Regions from separate parts of the Homo sapiens genome. Here region 1 is linked to region 2. The links are contacts of gene promoters, found by promoter capture Hi-C in blood cells and fetal thymus (Javierre and others, 2016). All regions are on one chromosome and are shown on one strand. Each heading gives the region's core, a stretch centred on a gene start or on the middle of the fragment in contact. The rest is flanking DNA. Distances are from core to core; before and after follow the strand shown. Region 1 holds the start of RETREG1 (reticulophagy regulator 1). Region 2 holds the start of ATPSCKMT (ATP synthase c subunit lysine N-methyltransferase).

Region 1 (4,171 bases), core at 1,591-4,090, 6.4 Mb before region 2:
GTCAAATCATCTAGCTCACTAGTGTTAATCACTCTGTTCCTAATATATAGCAATAAAATTTCAGAAGAGAATCTTAGTAAGATTACTTGCAGGAGTTCAAGAATGTGGCGTGTTCTTAAAACTAGGGGACAAGGTTGATTTCAACCATTGTTAGCATTATGTTTCTGTAATCTTAGCCCTGAATAAATTACTCAAGCATCACAAAGATCATTAGACAAACAACAAAACAACAACAAAATCCCACCCAGCAGCACCATTTGTATGTCTATGCCAGTGTCTACTTCTGTCATACAGTTTGTAAGTATTAGAGGTCGGAGGTGAAAAGGAAAGGTTAATTAGCCCAGCCTTTTATGCAAAACAGGTTGCATAGCATTTTCTCCATAGTAATTTTGAGAGAGAGAGAAAGGATAGACTTTACAACACATAGCTGTGGGGAAGGAGGTTTATTATTAAACAGAGATAATAAATAAGTGTTGGAAACCACACACAGCAACTGGAGCTTAGCTTTTATGTGTCTTGGTTGCCAGCAGCTTTTACTACTTCAACAGATCCTGACAACAATAATTAGAATTCAAGGGAAGCAGGAGGAAGGTGATTAATCTTGCAAACCCATTTCTGGTAGCACATCAGCACTGGTCTGGGGAACGGGGACACCTGGTTCTTCCTCTCTCCTGCCCCATGTTCTCCACACTGGCTGCAGCACACATCTGTCTAGTGACAGATTTTAGAATAGCAAACCCTGGGCTGTATCAAGCGCCAAACAAAGGCCAAATGACACAATAAAAGCATCATTTATCTTTCAAAAACTTCTCCGCTACTGCCAAGAGGGAGGACCCACACCTGGGAAAAGATTGTCTCTCTTATATGGAAGAAACCTGAATTGTTTCCACGTTGCTTTTTCCTTGACACCCAGGCCACTTTCCATCGGGTTGTCAGGATACTCCTAAGAAGGGGAGTCGGAAATGCCAGATGTTCTGTATCACCTTTAGTTAAAAACCAAGCCTCCTGTTACTAGAGACCATTCAATGTCCACTATTCCCTTTGGTGAGTTACTTAAGGAACTGTGCGTCTCCACCTGCAACCCCATGCCTCCTCTCCTGTTGAATTCCCAACAGCAGTTATTGCCCCTGTCCCCAATCCCCACACTAATGGGGGCCCTACAATTTAGGGCAGAGGCCATTTATTACAAAACGCTCTTGAAACCTGATCCCTCCACTCCTCCCCTAATTTTGGATGCACAGTTTAAGTAAGGAATCTCTTAGCACTTAGCGAAGGCTTCTTCGCTGTGGCAGATATCACAATTGTAACTGGGCCCTCATCAGACTGGGAGCTTCCTGTGGGTGGAAGCTGCATCCACAGAGCTTAGCAATGCTTTGTGTACTCGGTAGGTGCTCAGTAAGCCTTTGCCTGGGCTCTGGGAATATAACTCCTTTGAAGTACAACATACAAGCAGTAAAGTGCAGACACCTGCAGTGAATGTACAGATCAATGGATTCCACGTGTGTATACACAGAGGTTTACAATGGCCACCCAGAGGAGCGTTACAGAACATTCCCCTAGAGACTCCCTTGACGCAGGGAATTTAATTGCCCTCCCTTCCATCCTGTGCAGGCAGGCTGGTTGCCAGTAAAGGGATATGAGATGCCCTGATGCATCCGCAGACAGAACCCTTAGTATGGGGGGGAAGGACCTGTCATTCTAGAGTAAAAGTAAGACCAGGAAGATTAAAGAAGACAAAAATTTAAAAATGCAAATGGTGAAAAGCATAAACAACTATTTTCCTCTCTCCCCACACTCACCCAGAAGCACCGGGGCCAAAGAGAGGGCATGGGAGGTCTCAGGATCCCCTGCCGCCCCACCACTGCCCTGATGCCCGCTTGTGACGCAGAGACCGGAGTGGCTCTGAAATTACTGTCTTCAAAGCAGGCCAAACCTTGCTTGACACGTGCAAAGTTCCAATCTCTTGCTTCTCAGCTCCCCGCACGCGCGGGCCAACGTGCACTTCTGAGCCAGATCACCTAGCCACAAGGAGGGGGAGAGAGGGGGAGATAGGAGGAGAGAGGGGAAGATAGGGGGAGAGACGGGGGAGAGAGAGGGAGAGGCAGAGAGAGAGAGAGAGACAGAGAAGAGAAAGGAAGCACCTGAGACAGAGAGAAAGAAGAGAGAGAAAGGAAGCAGCTTCCCCCAACGCTGCGGCCTTGTGTTTCCTCCCGTGTCAAACGAGAGGGCCCCAAATTGACCCCAAATGTTTTTTCTTCCTTTCTCAATCCAACATTTATACCAGCACGTTATTTCCAGGATGCCCAGGACCTCTGCTATGGTTGTGCTGCTGTCCCTGCAAAGGCGCTGGGGATGGCCGAGGTGGGGGATGTCTCTGGGGGCTGAAATACGCTGCCAGGGGAAGGGGCGCCCCGATACCACCCTCAGTGGCTGCTGGTTGGGCGACCGGTGGCCCTGGCTTGAGAAAGTGAAAATGTCCAATCTATTTTGCCTGGAGCCTTGGGTCTCTTTTGGATACGGAACCGAGCAGCAGTCCTCCACTTCGCCCTCTCCCGCCGCTGCAAGGGAAAAGGTCGTTTTCCTCGAGTCCCGGAGAGGCCCTCCAGGAACCCAGAGCCCCCCGGGGACACCGCCCAGCTCCCGGCGCCCGGCCCCGCCCCTGCGCGAACTCGGCCGCACCCACTTTCCCGGGCGGCTCCCCCTCCGTGGCCTGTGGCGTCACAAGGCCCCCAGCCGCCTGTGCCCCGCGGTGCGCGCCCCGCTCCGGGACCTGCCGCCACCGCCGCCCCGCCCTCGGCGGCACCCACACCCAGGCGCGCCCGCGCGCGCGCCCGGCCCCGTCCCTGTCTGGAAGCACAGCTGAAGATGGCGAGCCCGGCGCCTCCGGAGCACGCCGAGGAGGGATGCCCGGCTCCTGCCGCCGAGGAGCAGGCGCCGCCGTCGCCGCCACCGCCCCAGGCATCCCCCGCAGAGCGGCAGCAGCAGGAGGAGGAAGCGCAGGAAGCTGGGGCGGCGGAGGGCGCGGGGTTGCAGGTGGAGGAGGCCGCGGGCCGGGCGGCGGCCGCGGTAACCTGGCTGCTCGGGGAGCCGGTGCTGTGGCTGGGCTGCCGCGCCGACGAGCTGCTGAGCTGGAAGAGGCCGCTGCGGAGCCTGCTCGGCTTCGTCGCTGCCAACCTGCTGTTCTGGTGAGAGCTTGGGCAAGGTGGGGGCGCTGAGGAGGGCAGGTGACCTTGGGGCGCCCGGGGCCCCGGGGACCCAGTGCAGGGGGAGCCCGCGGGACACTGCGGAGGAAGAATTGTCAGCCCTGCCCCACTTTCTCGGCCACCTGTCTCGAACAGGTAGACACTCACCGCAACTTTCCTCCGGACGCACGTCCCTGTGAGCAGTTGTCGTTCTCCGTGTGCGGATCCAGCCTCAGATGCGAGGTGGTCGGCCGACCCTCAGGCACCTGCACCTACAGGTGTTCCCATCGTGCTTGAAAACTTCGCCCCTGCTTTCTAAAACTCTGAGGTCTTGACCTGCTCGCCCAAGCTTGCCGGAGCAAACGTGCTTGAACGTGTCTTGGTTCTTGCAGCCCCAGCAGGCATATCTGGACCAGATTAGGTACCCGTTCAAAACGGTGCCGCATTCATCAGTCACCTGAGATGGGCCCTGAATGATTTGTTTTTTCCTTCCCCTGGAGCGTTAGGTTTACTGTGTTTACTCCCTGATGAGAAAACGGGAGGCAAACAAGCAGGTGGAGTATGCCCAGCACCCACCCCCGGGTGTGCACAGTGTGGAAAACAGGCATATTTTTAGGTGAAGTACAGGGAGAACACACGGGAATGCTCAGCCCCTGAGCAACAGGTTTGTCTCTCCAAAAAGCGCTCTTCAGAAAGGCCAGGGAAATGTCTGTCTCCTTCGTTGAAAGTGGTGTCCTGTCATCCGTTACCACGCTATTGAGGGCGGAGAAAAACCTTCTTTGTTTGCTAAGTGTCCTCATAACAAACATGACCTACACAGTGCAGAATAATCAGACTCCGGTAACAGATACCTTGTTACAGGACAGAGATTTCTGAACCTTAAAGTTGAGAAATAAATAAATTGCACAAAATAGACAGCCTGTCATTTTCTAGGTTAACTTGAGCAAGATGAATATTTTCCTCAGATCTCTGCTAGTCCTGGTGTTTTC
Region 2 (3,994 bases), core at 976-3,475:
CCGACCTCGAATGTCAATATGCCAAACTTGAGAATGCTGCTCTAGACCACTGGCTTTGACTCTGACAGCGGTGGCCCTGACCATGGTAATGCTCTTTAGTAGCAACTGCTCTTCAGAACAATTTCTCAACTGCTCTGGGCCCAAGTCCCCAGTTTTGTAAAATAACCCTGTCTCAGAGTGTGCGACTTCTGGGCACAAATGCATGCAGTTTGAACAAAATGGCTGATGCAAAACAACCTAGTTTTAGTTATGTTGTTACACCAGGTGTGTGTATTGGATGTTATTTTCTCTGCAGGTCCCTGTTAAGTGGAAAATAAAATGGAATACATAATACAATTAGCTTGAAACTTTTTCTTTCTAGAAAGGAAACAAATACTGAGTGCCTACCGTGGATCAACCACTGTGCAGCCCCTCTAAGTCACTCCATTTAATATCACTGTCAAGTCTTCAGCTTGACGGAGGCCTATCACCTCCCCCTGGAAAAGGAGGTTCCGCGAGGTTGTGTAACTAGCACTAAGTCAAACAAAGAGTCCATAGGGGAACTGTATTGTTTCTAACTTTGCGTAAGTAAACCTCCAAGACACTAAGTGAACAGGGACACCTGAGAGACCTAGTGGAATGGTCTATTATGAATTCACTTTATAACAAACCCTGAAGGCCCTCTCGGAGTGTCCCTTCCTCTGCATTTTCTGTCAACGTCTGGTGCTCAGATGTTTCTTACCTGCACCCCTGCCCTGGTTTCTTTAACCCCTCTGGTCTTCCTTATTCCCTTCGGTCTATCTCAAGCTTTGCTGCCTGAAGTGCAGCTCTACTGAAATTCTGCTCAAAACCCCCTCAATGGCTCCCCTTCTTCCCCAAAGATAACGTCGTATTTTCCATGTTGGGCATTCAATAGCTTCCACCTTCGGGAACTATTGTAAGTTAAAGAAGTCAGTGCTCCATTAAAACCGGATGGCTCTTCCATTCTACAACGTGCCATGCGCATTCTTGCCCAAGCCTTTACTTCTACCGTTTCCTCTCCCTAGAATGCTACCTCTCACCCCGATCTAAAGCTGTCCTCCAGCACCACGCTTATGTGCACCCTCTCCGTAGCTGTCCTTCTCACTGCACACCACCTTGTATTACGGTTATGTGCGTCCGTTTTTCACTCTTCGCTATTTTTCCTCAAGGGTGGGCAAAAAAGCACTCAGAAATGAAATACCCTGTTAAGTGACCACACCTTTACGAGTGACAAAGAAAACGGAAGGGCCGTTGCGGGTGGACCAGCGAAAGGTTAAGCAGCAGCGCCTTAACCGACAGGTGACAGAGCATCTCCCCGGCGCCCTCCCACTGGAGCGCAGTCCCACGCGGCCGTCAGGCTGGAGGAGCCGGGCGGGGAGGCGGTCCCGCTTTGCTCCCGCGGGCGACCGGACTGAGCGGCCCCACCCAGCTCCGAAGGGCGCTGGCGGCCCAGCCTGGCTGGCCCCCACATTCCGAGCCCAGGATTAGGCGCCGGCGTCTCCCGAGCTCAGTAAGCGGGCTGAGCGGCCGGAGACCGCAGGGAGACGGAGATTCTCGACCTTTCCGGGGAGCACATGGCAGAGCCGCTCCTCAACTCGCGCAGGCGCAGAGCCACGGCCTCGGCCACCTCCCCTTAGCCCACCGCGAGCAGGTCCCTGTGCCATTACCTTGAGGGCCTCAAGTCCCATAAGACGGGACTTGCGGTCCTGATCCTTGATGATGAGGAAAGGGCGCCCATATTCATCGAAGGCGAGGGTCCCCATGGACGCCATGGTGCAACAACCGGAATTACTTCCCCCCAACCGGCGGAGACCGCTACGGAAGCGAGAATGCACTTCCCTTTCTCGGGAGGGCCCAAAAGCTTGCGCACGCGCAGCACAAGACGCGCGGGACTTATGTTTCTACTGAGACTAATTTCACGCCAGACAGTATCTTCTGGAATCGGCGGCCTTCGGGAACTTCTATTATCCAGGAAGCCGGGGAGGGGGAGGTTTGAAGACACTTAGTGGAAATCTTAGGACACACAAGTCAAGAGCAGATTGAATTTGTCATTTTTTAAAACGTTACCACTGATAGTTTCTCGATAGTGGGTCCCAAGGAGGAATTCATTGACTTAAAGCACTATTTCTTTATTTCTTCGCACTCCGGCTCCGAGAAGATGGTAGGACCCATTTCCGGTTTTTTTTTTTTTTTTTTTTTTTTTTTTTTTTTTTTTAAAAACGCTGTTGGAAATCTCGCGATGGAGGGAGGAGGAGGTGAGGCTGGAGCGGCTTGGCGGGTTCCTGGGGGCATGAGAAGGGGTGCGGGCGGGCCGGGGGCTCGCGGTCAGCTGAGGTCTCCACTGTCGAGGCGGTGACCGGGTGCGGGCGGCTGCTCTGGCCTCCAGCCTGGCCTTCGGTGACCAGAGCTCCTGGTCGCCGCGCGGTGCCCGCGCCGGTTCTGGCGATCCTTGTCGGCGGGCGCGTTTCCCCAGAGACTGTTCTAGGCTACTTAGTGCAAGTGACTCAGCCTTTGGCACGATCTTAAGGAATAGGGATAGTGGAGGCACACTGATGGATTGGAATCGCAGTTCTGCCGCTCTTCCTAGCTGTGGCTTTGAGGAAATCCCTTAACTTCTTTGTCCCTCGGGTTCCCTGTCTGCAAAGTGACGGTGGTAACAGTAGTGCCTACTCACAGGGCTGCTGTGAGATTCAAGGAGAACGGTGCCTGGCAAGCTGAACACAGTGTTGGTAAATAAATTAACATTTTGCACAAATGGTTCAGTAACTTGCCACTGGTATACAGCTAGTAAGAAACAGTTACACAGCCTGATGCAATGGGTCCCACACTCTTTTTTTTTTTTTTTTTTTTTGAGACAAGACTGTAGCCCGGGCTGGAGTGCAGTGGCGCGGTCTCGGCTCACTGCAGCCTCCGCCTCCCGGGTTCCAGTGATTCTCGTGCCTCAGCCTCCCAGGCAGCTGGGACTACAGGCACAGAACCACCACGCTCGCTAATTTTTGTATTTTTAGTAGAGACGGTGTTAACGCCGTAGTGGCCAGGCTGGTCTCGAACGGCTGACCTCAAGTGATGTACCCGTCTAGGTCTCCCCAAGTGTTGGGCCTGAGCCACCGCGGTGCCCGGCAGGTCTCACTCTTAAGCCCTGTATTATGCTGCCTCAGAAAGATCTTGGCAACCGCAGCTGTCCTCTAAATCTCTTATGCTGCCTTCCTCCCCGCCCTCCAAGATCATGACTTAATATTTGATAGGTTTAGATTTATTTGTTGAGGGTTTCCATCCTTGCTTCTCCCCTACTGCCATGGGCAGGGACTTAACTAATAAAGTTGTATTATTCCCAGACTTTATTAGGCACTCAATAAGTGCTGAAATGAATACATGCACTATAACATTTGACCCTGTCCTGAAACTCAAGAACAGACTTGGCGACTGTGTTCCCATCTACTCTGGGGCTGAGGCAGGAGGATGGGTGGAGCCCAGGAGTTCAGTTTACAGTGCGCTATAATCGCGCCACTGCACTCCATCCTGGGCGACAGAGCGAGATTCTGTCTCTAAAAACAGGGAGGACTGACTGTCATGGGATGGTTGGTGATCTGTTAACTCTTCATGCTTGGCATACTTACGCGCTAGACCTTGAAGTGTTCTTCAAGGACATTTTAGATTTTGGAGTCAGGTCTTATTTCACGTTAGCTTTGCCAATTCAGTGTTTCCTCATTAAAAATGGTGACTTCTGCAATTCATTTGGCTCCTTCGATTGTTGTGAAAAATAGAATGTCCTATGGCATCCTCTGTGTAGTTGATTCCCTGTCAAAACACTGGGGAGTGAGAGAGGATTTTTCCTAATATCAATAGCTCATGTATGTCAAAAGGACACAAATGACATTAGACTAGTATAAGAAAGGCTTCTTAAGGACATAAGAATATATGCTAAAGGGACATAACATATGCTGTAGTTATTAAACAGGTATGCACATACAAGTGCACAATGAACAGTCCTTAT

The links. The method cuts DNA at HindIII sites, captures the fragments that hold promoters and counts their contacts. A CHiCAGO score of 5 or more calls a contact.
Region 1: the fragment with the promoter of RETREG1 here is called in contact with the fragment with the promoter of ATPSCKMT in region 2 in 3 of 17 cell types (naive CD8 T cells, total CD4 T cells and naive CD4 T cells); the score reaches 9.7 in naive CD8 T cells.

Annotation. Positions count from the first base shown.
Region 1 is chr5:16,615,666-16,619,836 of GRCh38, reverse strand. It overlaps RETREG1 (reticulophagy regulator 1), which reads left to right and starts at 2,840. Exons shown (of 9, transcript NM_001034850.3): 1 at 2,840-3,185. The coding sequence starts at 2,866. RETREG1-AS1 (RETREG1 antisense RNA 1) reads right to left here and starts at 3,911. Exons shown (of 4, transcript NR_109946.1): 1 at 3,351-3,911. RefSeq lists a silencer at 2,597-3,086. The HindIII fragment of the contact is 3,701 bases long and covers 1-3,533 here.
Region 2 is chr5:10,248,119-10,252,112 of GRCh38, reverse strand. ATPSCKMT (ATP synthase c subunit lysine N-methyltransferase) reads left to right here and starts at 2,225. Exons shown (of 5, transcript NM_199133.4): 1 at 2,225-2,255. The coding sequence starts at 2,240. It overlaps CCT5 (chaperonin containing TCP1 subunit 5), which reads right to left and starts at 1,833. Exons shown (of 11, transcript NM_012073.5): 1 at 1,668-1,833. The coding sequence starts at 1,772. RefSeq lists silencers at 683-905, 1,236-1,375, 1,446-1,515, 2,266-2,325, 2,336-2,455. The HindIII fragment of the contact is 6,282 bases long and covers 1,864-3,994 here.